Linked DNA regions of Homo sapiens: region 1 is linked to region 2. The links are contacts of gene promoters, found by promoter capture Hi-C in human tissues and cell types (Jung and others, 2019). All regions are on one chromosome and are shown on one strand. The core of a region is centred on a gene start or on the middle of the fragment in contact, and the rest is flanking DNA. Distances in the headings are between cores, read along the strand shown.

What was found. Contacts are between HindIII fragments. The study calls those that stand out against the background at their distance.
Region 1: a fragment that was not itself captured here is called in contact with the fragment with the promoter of OVCA2 in region 2 in 4 of the 25 tissues and cell types used here (IMR-90 fibroblasts, aorta, dorsolateral prefrontal cortex and 1 more).

Annotation. Positions count from the first base shown.
Region 1 is chr17:1,849,314-1,853,515 of GRCh38, reverse strand. It overlaps RPA1 (replication protein A1), which reads right to left. Exons shown (of 17, transcript NM_002945.5): 5 at 327-415. Among named protein-coding and RNA genes, the nearest start is that of RPA1, 21 kb to the right of the region's middle. The HindIII fragment of the contact is 7,908 bases long and covers 1-4,202 here.
Region 2 is chr17:2,040,772-2,044,530 of GRCh38, reverse strand. It overlaps OVCA2 (OVCA2 serine hydrolase domain containing), which reads right to left and starts at 2,509. Exons shown (of 2, transcript NM_080822.3): 1 at 2,300-2,509; 2 at 1,106-1,926. The coding sequence starts at 2,483. The coding sequence ends at 1,427. DPH1 (diphthamide biosynthesis 1) reads right to left here. Exons shown (of 13, transcript NM_001383.6): 10 at 3,350-3,428; 11 at 2,910-3,050; 12 at 2,656-2,763; 13 at 633-1,926. The coding sequence ends at 2,674. RefSeq lists silencers at 2,207-2,406, 2,917-3,006 and an enhancer at 2,597-2,656. The HindIII fragment of the contact is 24,727 bases long and covers 1-3,759 here.

The sequences.
Region 1 (4,202 bases), core at 1,018-3,517, 190 kb after region 2:
AGACGGAGTTTTGCCATGCTGGCCAGACTGGTCTCGAACTCCTGACGTCAAGTGATCTACCTGCTTTGGCCTCCCAAAGTGCTGGGATTACAGGTGTGAGCCACCGTGCACCCAACCCGTTTGTCCATTGCTTTCTAATTGTGCCCTTTCTTCATACATCATTTCTTTAGAACTGAAAAAGCCTGACAGAATAGCCTGGTTCCTAGACCTCAGAATCACTATCATTTTATTAACACTAACAAGTCAAACTGAATCCAAAAGGTAGAACTCCGAATATATAAAGAGGTATTCATTTGAGTGCTACAACCTACGCCAAAGCATTTTACCTTCATTATAGGGCACTGGATTGCCAATCTTCACTCCAACTGCTTCAGCTGACTTCAAAACTTCTAATTCCATCAAGATAACTACTCTCCTGCAAAAGCAGACAAACAGAAACAGGTTAGAAAAACAAATTCTGTTCAAATGATAAGCTACTCAAAATGCTTTCCCCGATGATCATTGTGATGAACTATTTTCCATTTGTCATCTGTTTACATAAATATTTCTCTTCATCTTTCGCCGCATCATTATCAAGTGATTGCAGGGTTTTCAGTTCCCAACTAGTTCCTTAATTAAAATGCAGTGTTCTCGCTACGCACCGTATCTTCAAGGAGCCAACCGACATGGTAAGAATTTAGATTACTAAACACAAGAATATATGGCATAAAAAGAGATGAACTGTTTTCAGAAACACATACTTATCTCAACAATGACTTTTTCCCAGTGAAAACCAATTATGACAATAGATATTTTAAAAAATGTAATAATGACCCATTTTTAAGAACTTACAGTTCTTTTGCTTTTTAACTCTAATTAAAACGTTGTGATAACTTCCCAATGACCTTAGGCCACAAAGAAAAACCTGGGCCATGGCTTGCCTGGCCTGGCCTTGCTAACCCCCCTCCCGTGCCGCTGCCTGCCCTCTGCCCTCTGCCCTCTGGCCTTCCTGTTTTCTTTCAGTTCCACCACATGGGACAGTCCCTCTTGCCACAAGGCCTTTGTCCGTGATGCTCTGAGATTGCGGTGTTGTGTTCCTTCTCATTTTGCCTCATCTAATACTCATTTTTTAGCTCTCGTCTCAAACATCACTTCAAGAGACACTTCCTTAATCTCTAGTTGAGATCAGGTTGCTTTGTTCTAGTCTTTCCTACAGCCTTGATTTCTTTCCTTCAGAACACTCTGCTCCGTCTTAATTATATGTTCATTAGTGATTATTTTATTATTCTCTCTCGCTCCTACTAGACTGTACTGTCAATAAAGACAGGTATCCCTCAGTGCTTAATGAAGCAAATGGCCCACAGTTGTTGCTCAATACATACTTGATGAGCATATCACAATGTCTGCATTTTAAAAAGAAGGAATTTAATGGGAACATGACTGGAGGCAGGGAGACCAAGAGAAGAGACAAAATGACAGAGGCCTGAATGAGGTTAGTGGCAAGGGAGCTGAAGAAACAGGCCTAGGGCAATATTTAAGCAATAATCTACCCAAATTCATCACGTTTTAGACTTTAAATGGTCTGACTGCTGTTTTTGGATTTTTACATACAATCAATCGTTTGTTTTAAATGGTCTGACTGCTATAATTTGGATTTTTACATACAATCAATCAGTGTGTGCTACCCTTATCAGGTTTCACATCAGAGTTTCAATAAGATAAGCCTGAAATTATCTGTTCCTGAAAATGGTATCTAGATTCCCTGTAATAACTATCTGATACTTAGTGGCAGATATTTAACTACTTTCCAAATTATACAAATCACTCCAGAACATATAAAAATAGAAGGCCTATGAATCATTTAGTATGACTCTAATACTAAAACCTAAGACAAAACACACACACAAAACCAAAACTAATTTCATCCTGCAATATCCCATAAATCCTAAATAAAATATCAGCAAGATGAACCTAGCAGCATATTAAAAGAATACACTAATATCAACTTACAGAGAATACAGATGACAAGGACACATTAAGTGACTTTACAGGGATGCAATCAGCCAAATCCAGACTGGGGGAAACTGCACAAGGTGAAGGATAAATGACCTGGTTTCTTCAGCAAATAAACAGTAAAGGAGAAAAAAGGCAGACGCAGAGCCTACAGATTCAGAGAGACTTAACAGACCATCAATCTACCGTCACAGGAAACTTATTTTGGATTCTGATTCATATAGATTGTGTGGGCACACACACACACACGCACACGCACATACACACGCACATATACAACAAGATGGAAATACAACACGGACGGTATTTTTTTAGGTGTGAAATGGGATAGTGTCTTTTTAAGAGTTTTTATCTTTCAAAAATACATACTAAAATATTTATGGATGAAATAATATGATGTCTGAGATTTACCTCAAAATTACAGAGGATAGTGGACGTTGAAAGGATGGAGCTAGAGCAAAACTGGACAACAGATGACAATTTGGAGCTGAATGATGGGCTATATGGGGATTCATCAGACTACTGTGTATTCTGTCTATGTTTGTAGATGTTTAAAGTTTTCCAGAAAAAAGATTTTTAAAAATAAAAAGAGAAAATTAGCAAGCTAAGATAATTCTTATTTTTTTTTTTGAGAGAGAGAGTCTCACTCTGTCACCCAGGCTGGAGCGCAGTGGCACAATCTCAGCTCACTGCAACCTCCGCCTCCCAGGTTCAAGCAATTTTCCTGCCTCGGCCTCTTGAGTAGCTGGGATTACAGGCACCCGCCACCACACCTAATTTTTGTATTTTTAGTAGAGACAGGGTTTCACCATGTTGGCCAGGCTGGTCTCGAACTCCCCATCTCAGGTGATCCACCTGCCTCAGCCTCCCAAAGTGCTGGGATTACAAGCATGAGCCACCAGCACAGCCTAGGATTTTTTTTTAAGGCAGGATTTATTGCAAGAATGAAACAAGAGTTGAATTATTAGGCAATCCTTTTTTTTTTTTGAGACGGAGTCTTGCTCTGTCACCCAGGCTAGAGTACAGTGGGGCAATCTCAACTCACTGCAACCTCCGCCTCCTGGTTTCAAGTGATTCTCTTGCCTCAGCCTCCCGAGTAGCTGGGACTATTAGGTGTGTGCCTCCATGCCTGGCTAATTTTTGTATTTTCAGTAGAGATGGTGTTTCACCATGTTGGCCAGCCAGGCTGGTCTTGAACTCCCCACCTCAGGTGATCCACCTGCATTGGCCTCCCAAGGTGCTGGGATTACAGGCGTGAGCCACCAGCCTAGCCCTAGGATTATTTTTTTAAGGCAGGATTTATCGCAAGAATGAAACAAGAGTTGAATATTAGGTAATCTTTTTTTTTTTTTGAGATGGAGTCTTGCCCTGTCGCCCAGGCTAGAGTGCAGTGGGGCGATCTCAACTCACTGCAACCTCCATCTCCCGGGTTCAAGTGATTCTCCTGCCTCAGTCCCCCGAGTAGCTGGGACTATAGGCATGTGCCACCACGCCTGGCTAATTTTTGTATTTTCAGTAGAGACAGGGTTTCACCATGTTGGCCAGGCTGGTCTCGAACTCCTGACCTCAAGTGATCCACCCACCTCGGCCTCCTAAAGTGTTGAGATTACAGGCATGAGCCACCACGTCCAGCCTAGATAATCTATTAAAATAGTTCATTAAATATGATCATATCAAGATGTAGTAAAAGCTTTGAAAGAATTTACGAGCCATTTCTGATGAAATCCTGAGGACTTAAAAAATAAAACCTGCACCTGGTAAACTGCGCGTTTTTCCACGATCAACACTGCATTGAACAGTGAAACCAAAAGCATTTCCATGAAAATCAGGCAACTGCTGACATTACCATCGTCCAACAAAGTTTTGACAGCGCTGTCAATACAGTAAAATTAAAAAAAAAAAAAACAAAATGACAAATATGAGAATAAGGAATGCCGGGTGCGGTGGCTCACGCCTGTAATCCCAGCACTTTGGGAGGCCGAGGTGGGCAGATCATGAGGTCAGGAGATCGAGATCATCCTGGCTAACACAGTGAAACCCCGTCTATACTAAAAATACAAAAAATTAGCCGGGCGTGGCGGTGGGCACCTGTAGTCCCAGCTACTGGGGAGGCTGAGGCAGGAGAATGGCGTGAACCCGGGAGGCGGAGCTTGCAGTGAGCCGAGATCGCACCACTGCACTCCAGCCTGAGAGACAGAGCGAGACTCCGT
Region 2 (3,759 bases), core at 1,260-3,759:
TGAGACCCCTTCTCTACAACAAATACAAAAATTAGCCAGGCATGGTGATTTGCGCCTGCAGCCCCAGCTGCTTGGGAGGCTGAGGTGGGAGGATGGATGGCTTGAGCCCGGGAGGTGGAGGCTGTCAAGATTGTGCCACTGCACTCCAGCCTGGGTGATAGAGTCAGACCTTGTCTTTAAAAGTAAAGAAAACAAAAAAAGAGTGGGCAATCCTAGGTAGGTGCAGTGGCTCAGGCCTATAATCCTAGCACTTTGGGAGGCTGAGGCAGGTGGATTGTTTGAGCTAAAGAGTTTTGAGACCAGCCTGGGCAACGTGGCAAAACCCTATCTCTACAAAAAAATATAGAAATTAGCCAGGCGTGGTGGCGCATGCCTGTAACGCCACCTACTCAGGAGGCTGAGACAGAACTGCTTGAACCCAGGAGGCTGAGGTTGCAGTGAGCCAGGATCTTGGCCACTGCTCTCCAGCCTGGGTGACAGAGTGAGCCTGTCTCAAAAAAAAAAAAAAAAAGAGTGAGCAATCCTCAAAGTATCCAAGAACAACTACACGCCCCAAGGGGAAAACCAGCTGGATTGCTTAGGCCTTGGCTGTAGTCACTAAAGAATGGCATCAATCTCAGAAACCCTCAAGATGGGGTCAATTTAGGAAGAAGCTGTTTATTCTGTACTGTCTTTGGCCTCCACCTAAGGTCTGGCATCGACCCACCCTTCAGGCTCATAGTTCAGCGAGGTTAGAGCACTTAGGGAGAAGCAGGTAACACATCCAGGGTTTGAGAGAAGACCAGCACACAACTCTCAGTGATCTGGATAGAGGAAGACTAAATTACTGTGGTTCAGGCAGCCTTGCCAGGTGATGTCTTCCCAAAACTTCTCAGATGTATATTCCTCCCTGATTGTGCCACCTAGGCCTCCTTCCCTTCAGTTTGGGACTTAAAACTTCCACCAATAACGTGAGTATGTGCACCCATGCAGCAGCCTGTCCGAGGACTCACAACTGGAGACACCTCCCTGCTTGGCGCTGCCCAGAAAACTATGTAGATGGCCAAGAAACCGACTTCCATTATAAAATGTTTTTCTGTGTGTACCAGGAAAAAGATGCTCAAAATCCAAATCACCACTTTATTATGTGGCAGTCACCATGGTGCCAGCCTCTGCCTTCCCCATGTCACCCTCCTAATCCAGGGCTCTCCAACCATATTCATGTTTGCGTTTTCACAAGTCAATGTCCATTAAGGCCTTGTGCTCCCCTTTTCTTCAGTACAGGGCAGGGCCCTTATAATTTGGGTCTCAAGAATTGATAGTTGTCTCTTAACTGGTTCTGGTGAGGCGCACTCACAGCAGTGAGTGGAGGGTCCTGGGAGGGCATGGATGACGGAGGCTGCCCCTAGAGGAGCTGGATGTAGGAGCAGAGACATTTCTTGATCTTTCACTCTGCAAACTGGTCCAAGAACTTGAGGTAGGCCTGACGCTGGGGTGCAGCTGCTGGAATGAAGTGGCCACCAGAGTGGGTGAGGGTGATGGCTCCGGGAAATTGGCTGGCCAGTTGCACACTCTCCTGAGAGGGGATGACTTTGTCAGTGTCCCCAAAAACATGGAGCGAAGGCAATGACAAGGGCCTTTGCAGGATGGATTCCTTGAACCCAATGCCCCGGGGACAGAAACCAGACACCAAGAGGATAAACCGTGGCAAGGGGAAGCGGGGATCGCCTGCCTGGCCCAGGGCACACACAAGGGCTGCTAGCGCAGCCCCTTGGCTGAAACCAAGAAGGCCGTCAAAAGGCCCCAGCCTGTTCAGTGCCTGTGCCACCATCCCCAGTGATTCCTCCAGGCCCCTGCAGACGGCGGGCTCTTCCAATGCGGAGAAAACGTCGGCCTCCTGCTCTGAAAACCACCAGCCTCGAGGCTGCTCCTCCGGAGGGCAGGACCCTACAGCGATATGAGGAAAAAGGATGGGATTAGGGCATGGGAGGCTCCAGGAAGGAAAGAAATGAGAAAGGGCAGGAGGGTTCGAGATGACAGAGAGAAAAAGGGAATCGAGGCAAAAGTCTGGGGGAAATGAGAGGGGGGAAATGAGTGGATTGGCCTGAACAGGAGACAGCGGAGGAAGACGGTGAAGGCGGAAGCCTGGGAGGACAGGCTGCAGTTTGAGCAAAGAGGGTATGGGTCGCGAGAAATGAAGGGTGTGGACTGGGTGGGAGGAATGCGGGTGGACGCAGGGTGGGGGATGCTGAAGGGTGTCGAGGGGGACGAAACAAGATGGAGGAAACTGAGTGCGTTTCCGGAGCGGGGCTTGTCTCACCGAAGTCTGATCTGGCGCCCTCGGGGCCCGGGGGGTCGGGGACCGGGTGCGGGCCGCTGAGGCACACGAGCTCGGCGCGACCCCGCAGCGCCTTCCTCAGCGCCCCGGTCTTCTCACGGAAGCCCCGCTCGCTCTGCCGGAAGCCCGCCAGGCACAGGACCCGCAGGGGTCGCTGCGCGGCCATTATGCCCGGCAAGGAGCGACGGAAGCACCGGAAGCGGTCTTTCCCCGAGCGGAAGCACAATGCACGGGGCGGAACCGAACGTCAGCACCGCCCCGAGGGCGGGCCTCGGAGCGCCAAGGCGTTCCCATGACAACGGCAAAAGGCGGGGCGCACCCAGAGCGGGGGCTGATACCTGAGGCCCGGGAGCGCGTCAAGGAGCCAGCGGCGCCACCTTCTCGTCCCTGCAGCTGCAGTCCTCGCAAGCCACGGCCGAAGGGGGACGCGCGGACCCCTCCTGCACCTGAGGTCGCAGACTTTGGTTAGGGTCTCGCTCCTGCGACCCTGCGTTTCCCTCCGCTCCGCTCCTGTGCGTTTCCCGTCGCGGTCGCAGGGCGGCGGCCAGTGCCCAGGCGCGGTCTCTCCTCCCTCCTGGAAGCCCCCGCCTACCTTCCCCCGCGCGGGCCGGCCCGGGGCGTGGGGACGGCGGTCCTGGCCGTGGTTCACCGTCCAGGGCCCCAAGGAGCTGCCAGCGTAGAAGTCCATCGGGTAGGGCTGCTGCCAGGAAATGTCCCTCAGAGCCACGGCCGCCTAGGGGAGGGGAGGGAGGGACAATAACATCTGCCAGTGTTTTTCTGCCCCTGGATTACTGAATTCAGTCCTCACGACGGCCTGTGAAGGGCACACTGTCCCCTGCCACAGAAGGGAACTGTGTGGTTCAGGGCCTTGCCTAAGGCTACACAGCTAGGAAGTGACTCCGCTGGAGAAATCGAGACAGACTCCGGAATCTACGAACATAACGAAGTGCTGCCCACCCACCCCACTCCACTCCAGACCTCACCTTTGAGAACCACGTCCAAAGCCCACTCTCTCCCAGAGCTTGGTGTTACCTCATAGGGTGTCAGCAGCGGCTTGGGGAAGGCTGTGCCCCAGTCAATGGAGAGACGTGGACATGCCACCTGCACCCACCTGGGAAGGGAAGCCAGGTCAGACCCTAGGAAGGGCCTCCTCGTCGCCCAGGCAGCATGCTGAAGAACATGACAGTGCCCCCAGCACACCCATTCATTAACAGGCTTTATGAATCCTAAAGTAAAGACAGTGACCCACTGCTGTTTGGAATACTGTATTGTTGCGTGTTTTCTCCTGTTTCCTCTGCCGACAATGAGCTTTCCAGGGCAGCTCACTGGTGATAGTATCCCCAGAACCACATTTAGTACCTGGTACAGGGCAGGTGTCAGCCACCGCTCAAACTCATCTCACAAGGACAAATGTGATGTTGCCATTGCCTCTGAGCCCCAAA